Linked DNA regions of Homo sapiens: all the other regions are linked to region 2. Evidence: promoter capture Hi-C in human tissues and cell types (Jung and others, 2019). All regions are on one chromosome and are shown on one strand. The core of a region is centred on a gene start or on the middle of the fragment in contact, and the rest is flanking DNA. Distances in the headings are between cores, read along the strand shown.

Region 1 (2,700 bases), core at 14-2,513, 420 kb before region 2:
GGATCTCACTCTGTTACCCAGGCTGGAGTGCAGTGGTGTGATCACAGCTCACTGCAGCCTCAAACTCCTGGGATCAAGTGGTCCTCCTGCCTCAGCCTCCCGAGGAGCTGGAACCACAGATGCATGCCACCACGCCCAACTATTTTTTTTTTTTTTTATTTTTGGTAAAGACAGGGTCTTGCTATGTTGCCTCGGCTGGTCTCTAACTCCTAGGCTCAAGCCATCTTCCCACCTCAGACTCCCAAAATGCTAGGGTTGCAGGTGTGAGCCATTAGATGTCGTGATTTAAAACAAAAACCTCTTCTGTGTTTGACACGGGGCCTTTGCACTCGTGCTCTGGCCCTCTGCCGTGGTGCCGCAGTTCTCACTCTGGGATTTTTATTACCTCTGACGTGCCTTCCTGTGGTGACATCTATAGGCAGCTGCATAAATCATGCCCACAAAGAAGGACAAACCGAGGAGCCTGGAGAAGTCAGGGTTCCTCTGGAAATAAATATTCTGTATTCTGTTGCACGCACACATATGTGCCCTTTTCTTTTTTTGAGATGGAGTTTTGCTCTTGTTGTCCAGGCTGGAGTGCAATGGCATGATCTTGGCTCACTGTTATCTCCTCCTCCTGGGTTCAAGCAATTCTCCTGTGTCAGTCTCCTGAGTAGCTGGGATTACAGGCACCCGCCACCATGCCTGGCTAATTTTTTTTGCATTTTTAATAGAGATGGGGGTTTCACCATGTTGGCCAGGCTGGTCTCGAACTCCTGACCTCAAGTGATGCACCCACCTCGGCCTCCCAAAGTGCTGGGATTACAGCCACGATGCTTAGCCCATATTTTCTTATTATCAAAAATCCTAATACTTTATATAGCCTCTAACCCACAATTCCCCTTCCATGAACTTAAAATGTTTACAGAAATTGTGGAGATCTCCCCTTCTTATGGCCAAGATGGATAACCCTTCTTGCCTTAAATACCTACAACTGTACAAAACATAGGAAACAGCAGTTTCTTTTCGTTTTTGAGAAGGGTCTTGCTCTGTTGTATAGGCTGGAGTACAGTGGCAAAATCAGGGCTCATTGCAGCCTCAACTTCCCAGGCTCAAGCGATCCTCCCACCTCTGCCTCCTGAGTAGCTGGAACTACAGGTGTGAGCCAGCATGGCTGGCTAATTTTTATAATTTTTGTAGAGATGGGGTTTCACCGCATTGCCCAGGCTGGTCTTGAACTCCTGAGCTCAAGCCATCTGCTCACCTCAGCCTCCCAAAGTACCGGGATTACAGGTGTGAGCCACCAAAAGCTTTAATTCTTTTTTTTTTTTGAGATGGAGTCTTGCTCTGTCACCCAGGCTGGAGTACAGAGGCACTGTCTCGGCTCACTGCAACTTCTGCCTCCCCAGTTCAAGTGATTCTCCTGCTTCAGCCTCCCAAGTAGCTGGGATTACAGGTGCTCACCACCACGCCTGGCTCATTTTTGTATTTTTAGTACAGATGGGGTTTTGCCGTGTTGGCCAGGCTGGTCTCAAAGTCCTGACCTCAGGTGATCCGCCCACCTCGGCCTCCCAAAGTGCTGGGATAACAGGTATGAGCCACCACACCCGGCCCACTGCTCCCTTTTGACCAATAATTTGGGAATGTGATTTTAAAAAAGCTTTAATTCTTTATATAGCCTCTAACTCACCCTTCCAGGAACTTAAAATGTTTTATTTTTTTCTTGAGACAAGGTCTCACTGTGTCACCCAGACTGGAGTGCAGTGGTGCCAACATGGCTCACTGCAGCCTGGATCTCCTGGGCTCAGGCAGTCCTCCCACCTCAGCCTCCCGAGTAGCTGAGACTATAGGCGCACATTGTCATGCTCGGCTACTTTTAGTATTTTTATTTTCTTGGAGAGATTGGGGTCTTGCTGTGTTGCCCGAGCTGGGTTCGAACTCCTGGTCTCAAGCAGTCTTCCCCCTTCAGACTCCCAAAATGTTGTAAAAATTGTGGAGACTTCCCCAACTTATGGCCAAGATGGATTAACCCTCTTGCCTTAAATACCTAGAAAACCGTACAACACATACGCAAAGGCAGTTTTTAGACACCGGTCAATAGGTGGCACTAAAGACCATGATCTCCGTTAGGGGAGAAACCAATGAGGCAAAGTGTTTCCAGCTGCCGCGGGAGGAGGGCAGCCGGGCAGAGCCCAGTGTTCTCCCTGAGTGCAGGAGACAGAGCTGAAAGTGTGAGCAGGCCTGGCCAGGTGCGGTGGTTCACGCCTATAATCCTAGCACTTTGGGAGGCCGAGGTGGGTGGGTCACTTGAGGTCAGGAGTTCGAGACCAGCCTGGCCAACATGGTGAAACCCTGTCTCTACTAAAAATACAAAAAATTTAGCTGGGCGTGGTGGTGCATGCTTGTAATCCCAGCTAGTCAGGCGGCTGAAGCATGAGAATCACTTGAACCTGGGAGGTGGAGGTTGCAGTGAGCCGAGATCGCGCCACTGCCCTCCAGCCTGGGCCAGAAAGCGAGACTCTGTCTCTAAAAAAAAAAAAAAAAAAAGTTTGAGCAGGCCAAAGCAGCTGGAATTTGCAGGATGGAATCCTGCGGGAGAGATATGCAAAAAAACCCAAATTCTGCAGCTTTGCAAAGGAAACCTCTTGACTCTGAAGCTGAGTGGGATCACCTCACACATGGAGGAAATTACCCGAGCAAGACTAGGGGAAGGAATCACAC
Region 2 (2,700 bases), core at 1-2,500:
CAGGCAGCTGCACCGGCAGCCTGTAATTAAGATTTCTCTAAACTGCTCCCTTATTACATGGGGTTCTGATGATTCTGATGATTTCTCTGTCAGCTCAAAGGAGATCTTCAGGAAAAAAAAAAAAAGTCTAGAGAACCTCAACTTCGGCTGTTCCTGTAAAAACACGGGCATTAACCCTTTGCTTTCCAAAGCGAACACCCACTCCATACAGAGGCACGTTCCTCTGTTTTTAAAATCTAATTCCCAGCATGACCCAGCAGTCATTTGTATTCCACTAAATAATTTCCAACAAACACGATTCCTCCAGCAAGAGGAAACCGAACGTCAGACACAGACCACCTGGGCCACGACGCGCATCGACCCGACCCACTCGGGAGCACACCTGGCTCCGGGCACACCTGGCTCTCCGGTCTTGCCTCTGTGCTGGGTGCAGCTCGTGTCTCCCACCCTCGGCTCCACGGAGTTTTTTGCTCAATCTGTCGCGTCTGCCGTTTCCTAAAACGTCTACCCTGAACTGAACTCCAGCTGGCCCCCTCCCCGTTCGAGCAAATCCAGCGACCGTTTCTGACCCAAAGCCAAGCAGACTGTCACGCTTTCCAACCGTTTCCCCTGCCCTCCCGTCCTGTACACTCGAGGAGCCTCCAGTGCAAAACTTTCCCCTCCCGGTTTCCCACCGGCTCAGCCGCTTCCGCCCACCTGAGCTGAAAGGGGGCGTCCGAAACGCCGGGCTCCGGAGGGCATGAACGCCCTTGGCGACAAGATGCGGGGAAGGTCGCCCCGCAAGGTCCCCCGCCCCAGAGGAGCGACACCCAAACCCCGGCCCGAGACTCCGGGGCGACCCCAGCCCGCGGCAGCCCCGGCCTGGTACCCAGACCCTCGCCAGCGCCGAACGGCGACCCCGGCCCGCCCCCTCCCTCGGCCCCCGGAGACCCAGCCTCGGCCCTGGCCCGGCGTGCCTCAGGCCTCCAGCGGACGCCGCTGCCGCTGCCCCCGACCCCGTCTCCTCCGGCGAACCCCGGCCCAGCGCCGCGCCCTCGACCCCCAGCCCCCGGCCCCCGACCCCAGGCCGCCGGCGAGCCCACCACACCTCCGACACTCACCGCCACCACCCTCGCCGCCGCCGTCTTCATCCATCTTGAGGCCACTCCCGCAGCCGGCGAGCCGGGGGCCGGCAGCAGAGGGGCCGCGGGCTGGGGACGCCGCCGGAGGGAGCGCGCAGGCGACCGGGCGGCTCCTCAGCGCGCGGCCCGGGTCGCGGCCGGGCCTCCTCCCGCCGGGCGGGGCCTCGCTGGTCGGCGTGCCGTCACGTGACCCATGCCCCGCCTCTGCCCGCGGTGGGCGGGGCGTGAGGCCGCGCAGCCCCGCCCTCGGGAACCGGCCGGGCCGGCGGCGTCTGCGCTGGGGAAGGCTGTAGACCTGGCCCCTGAAGTGCAGGCCGATCCGGTGTGCGTGGAGCGAAGCCTCCTCGCCCTCAGCATTCCAGTAGCCTGCGGACGGGCGTGGGGCCCCGGACACTGGAACGCCACACTCTGCAAAACCCAGTGGCCAGGGGTGCAACTTGCACGTGCACTCGGGGTAAAAGATCAAGAAACGAATGCATTCAGAAGTCAGGCCTGGCCAGGCTCGGTGGCTCACACCTGTATTCCAATACTTTGAGAGGCTGAGGTGGGAGGATCGCTGGAGAACAAAAGTTGGAGACCAGCCCCGATAACATAGCGACCCAGGCATGGTGGCATGTGCCTGTAGTTCCAGCTACTGGGGAGGCTGAGGTGGGAGGTCACGTCACTTGAGCCCAGTAGGTAGAGGCTGCAGTGAGTTATTATTGCACCACTGCACTCCAGTCTGGGTGACAGAGTGAGACCCTGTCTCAAAAAAAAAAAGAACAAGGTCAGGCCTTCTCCTTCCTAAGACATGCATGTCAGAAGAATTCCAGCCTTTCAGCTGTCTTATATTTAATGGAGCCTCTCCTCCTTCCCTCCTGGTGAGTGCATTTTTAAATTAACAAAATGCAGGGCTTGTAAATGAATGTGGTCATGAGGTTGGAACGGAATCCCGATTCAACACACCTGGGGCTCAGCTCTCAAAGGGCATTGTAGGGGTTGGCCAATCTGGCGGCTGATGCCCTTGGAGTTTAGCGCCAGTCTTCCTTGGAGAGCTGCCAGCTGTCCTGGATTTATGATGCAGGAGGAGCTCTGAATTCAGTTTCCCTTGGGCACAGCCAGGGTCCTCAGCACAGGCCTCCTGGGCAGAAGGCCTCCCCTGGCCCCTGCTCCACATCGATGGATCTCCTCTCTCACTCCCCATATCTCTCTTCCAGTAACTCCTGAAGCATTGCTTGTGGCCCCTCCCAAGCCTTTCTGTTGGAACTCAATCGCATTAAAGAAAAGCAAACATTGTAATGGAGGAGATAGCTCATCTCTAATATAATTTTCCAGCAACTGTTTTATATTTACAAGCTGTCCATTGAACCAAAGGATCCTTCCGTTGTCATCTATCAAAGTGGACAATTTCACCTTTTGGTTCAAGGTTGCGGGATGATTTCAAAGTTCAATCTTCTAATAACCTCAAGAATTGAACACCAAGCATTCTCATGCAACCAAACCCACGAGGGACACTTTTTTTTTGAGACAGGGTCTCGCTCTATTGCCCAGTCTGGCATGCAGTGTCTCGAGTGATCCTCACACTTCAGCCTCCCAAATA
Region 3 (2,823 bases), core at 14-2,513, 440 kb before region 2:
CCGAGGCTCAAGCGATTCTCCTGCCTCAGCCTCCCAAGTAGCTAGGATTACAGGGACAAGTCACAGGAAGCCAAGATTGTGCCGTACCACTGCACTCTAGCCTGGGCAACAGAGCCAGACCCCATCCCCCAAAAAGTTTTCTTATCATTTTTTGGGGGGATGCAAGCTCGCTTTGTTGCCCAGGCTGGAGTGCAGTGGTACAGCACAATCTCGGCTCCCTGTGATCTCTGCCTCCCAAGTTCAAGAGATTCTCCTGCCTCAGCCTCTTGAGTAGCTGGGATTACAGGCATGTGCCACCACACCTGGCTGATTTTTGTATTTTAGTAGAGATGGGGTTTCACCATATTGGCCAAGCGGGTCTTGAACTCCTGACCTTAGGTGATGCACCTGCCTCGGCCTCCCAAAGTGTGGTGATTACAGGCGTGAGCCTCTGCATCTGGCCTGTTTCTTCAGAATAGATTTCTAATAATTACATTTTTGGGTAATGGGTGGGGATTGTAGTAAATTGCACATTGGTTACTGAGACATAGATACACATATTCATTAAGAAAAACTCCAGTCAGTCGTGGTGGTTCACCCCTGTAATCCCAAGGTTTTGGGAGGCTGAGATGGGCAGATTGCTTGAACCCAGGAGTTTGAGACCAGCCTGTGCAATACAGTGAGACCGCCTTCTCTACCAAAAAATTTAAAAATTAGCTGGGCGTGTGACACACCTATAGTCCCAGCTTCTCGGGAGGCTGAGGTGGGAGGATCGCTGGAGCCTGGGAGTCCAGGGCTGCATTGAGTTCTGATTGCATCGCTGCATTCCAGCCTGGGTGACAGAGTGAAACCCTGTCTCAAAAAACAAAACAAAAATCCAAGTCAGGCCTCATGAGATTGAGTCCCTATGACATTTCCAAGGTGAGGGCTTTGCTCTGATAATGGGGATCCTTCAGAGAAGGCTTTCTCCCACCTGTGCCCGCGAGGCGGGGGGTGGGGGTGGTCTCAGCAGTTGATCGGGAGCCCACGGGCAAGCGTGGCCTCTCATATCCTCTCTCCCCACTCTGATGTCTGCCTTCACAGATACCTGCTTTCCCACAACAGCAAGGAAGAACCATGGCCCAGGTGAGTGTGGCATTTCTTTCTACTGCACTTTTTCAGCAGGGATTTTGGATGCTCATAAGAACATGACTAATAAAGGCTGGGTGTGGTGGCTCACACTGGTAATCCCAGCACTGTGGGAAGCCAAAGCGGGTGGATCACTTGAGGTCAGGAGTTTGAGACCAACCTGGCCAATGTGGTGAAACCTTGTCTCTACTAAAAATACAAAATTAGATGGGTGTGGTGGTGGGTGCCTGTAATCCCAGCTACTTGGGAGGCTGAGGCAGGAGAACCACTTGAACCTGGGAGGTGGAGATTGCAGTGAGCTGAGATCATACCACTGCACTTCAGCCTGGGTGACAGAGTGAGACTCTGTCTCAAAAAAAAAAAAAAAATCTGATAAAATGCAAACAGAAGTCAGGATCAGTGAAAACAGGAAGAGAATGGAAGGTCACGGCTGTGGGAAGGACAGGGTGGAGAGACTGTAGAGGCTGCTGCAGTTGTGAGATGCCTTGTAAATTCTTTTTTGAGACAGAGTCTGGCTCTATCATCTAGGCTGGAGTGCAGTGGCATAATCTCGGCCCACTGCAACCTCTGCCTCCTGGGTTCAAGCAATTCTCCTGCCTCAGCCTCCTTACAGGCACCTGCTTACAGGCACCTGCTACCACACACAGCTAATTTTTGTATTTTTAGTAAAGATGAGGTTTCACCACGTTGGCCAGGCTGGTCTCAAACTCCTGGCTTCAAGTGATCTGCCCACCTCGGCCTCCCAAAGTACTGGGATTACAGGCGTGAGCCACTGTGCCCAGCCCGATGCCTTGTAAATTTATATCTGACATTCCTGTCACTTAAAAAAGGCAGGCAGATTCCATCTAATATATGACTTGTGTTGTCTGTTTTGGACAACCGTGTCTAATTCTCGGGGGGAATACAGCTCTTTCAAGATTTAAAGATGTATTTGATCTTTGTATGTAAGATGTGGCAGACCCGTTCCTCAATAACAACCACCTTGAAAGAAACACAACAGGAAATCTCTTGTGACTTTTCTTCCTCTCTGTATAAACAGCAGATATTATGCCAAAGCAGCCGTCTGTGATTCTGGTTGTTTGGGGATGCCGAACACTCAGGTCTACAGAGACAGCCTTGTGTGGTGCCAAGTGACCTGGATGTAACACTGCATTATCTAGAGGAACGAATGAATGAACTGCGTGTTCTTGAAACAGCCTGCCATGTGTACCGCCACACCACCCTGAACGTGCCTGATCTTGTCTGAAATTGCTTGCCATAATGGGTTTTATTTTTTTAATTAAAAAATTTTTTTGAGATGGAGTCTTGCTCTGTCGCCCAGGCTGGAGTGCAGTGGCACTATCTTGGTTCACTGCAATCTCTGCCTCCCGGGTTCAAGTGATTCTCCTGCCTCAGCCTCCGGAGTAGCTGGGAATATAGGCATGTGCCACCATGCCCGACTAATTTTTGTATTTTTAGAGATGGAGTTTCATCATATTAGCCAAGCTGGTCTCGAACTCCTGACCTCAGGTGATCCGCCCACTTGGCTGTTAGCTCTCTTTGCATGTGAGTGACATCAGTGTTTTCCATCAGCCTGGAAGCATTCTCCTCCTCCTGCTCTGAACCCCGGGTTCTAGGAATGTGTGAGTGTGGAGTGCACTGGTTAGAAGTTCTAATCCTTGAAGTTGGAAGAGCCAGAAATCCAACTAGAAGTAGGTTAGGATTAAAAAAAAAAAA

Evidence for each region. Contacts are between HindIII fragments. The study calls those that stand out against the background at their distance.
Region 1: a contact is called between a fragment that was not itself captured here and the fragment with the promoter of CYTH3 in region 2, in 1 of the 25 tissues and cell types used here (dorsolateral prefrontal cortex).
Region 3: a fragment that was not itself captured here is called in contact with the fragment with the promoter of CYTH3 in region 2 in 1 of the 25 tissues and cell types used here (spleen).

The regions. Positions count from the first base shown.
Region 1 is chr7:5,854,543-5,857,242 of GRCh38, forward strand. No RefSeq gene overlaps it. Among named protein-coding and RNA genes, the nearest start is that of OCM, 25 kb to the right of the region's middle. The HindIII fragment of the contact is 4,199 bases long and covers 1-2,700 here.
Region 2 is chr7:6,271,374-6,274,073 of GRCh38, forward strand. CYTH3 (cytohesin 3) reads right to left here and starts at 1,251. Exons shown (of 13, transcript NM_004227.4): 1 at 1,101-1,251. The coding sequence starts at 1,134. RefSeq lists enhancers at 1-588, 589-1,310 and silencers at 629-798, 1,119-1,478. The HindIII fragment of the contact is 17,528 bases long and covers 1-2,700 here.
Region 3 is chr7:5,832,465-5,835,287 of GRCh38, forward strand. It overlaps the pseudogene ZNF815P. Among named protein-coding and RNA genes, the nearest start is that of OCM, 47 kb to the right of the region's middle. The HindIII fragment of the contact is 7,853 bases long and covers 1-2,823 here.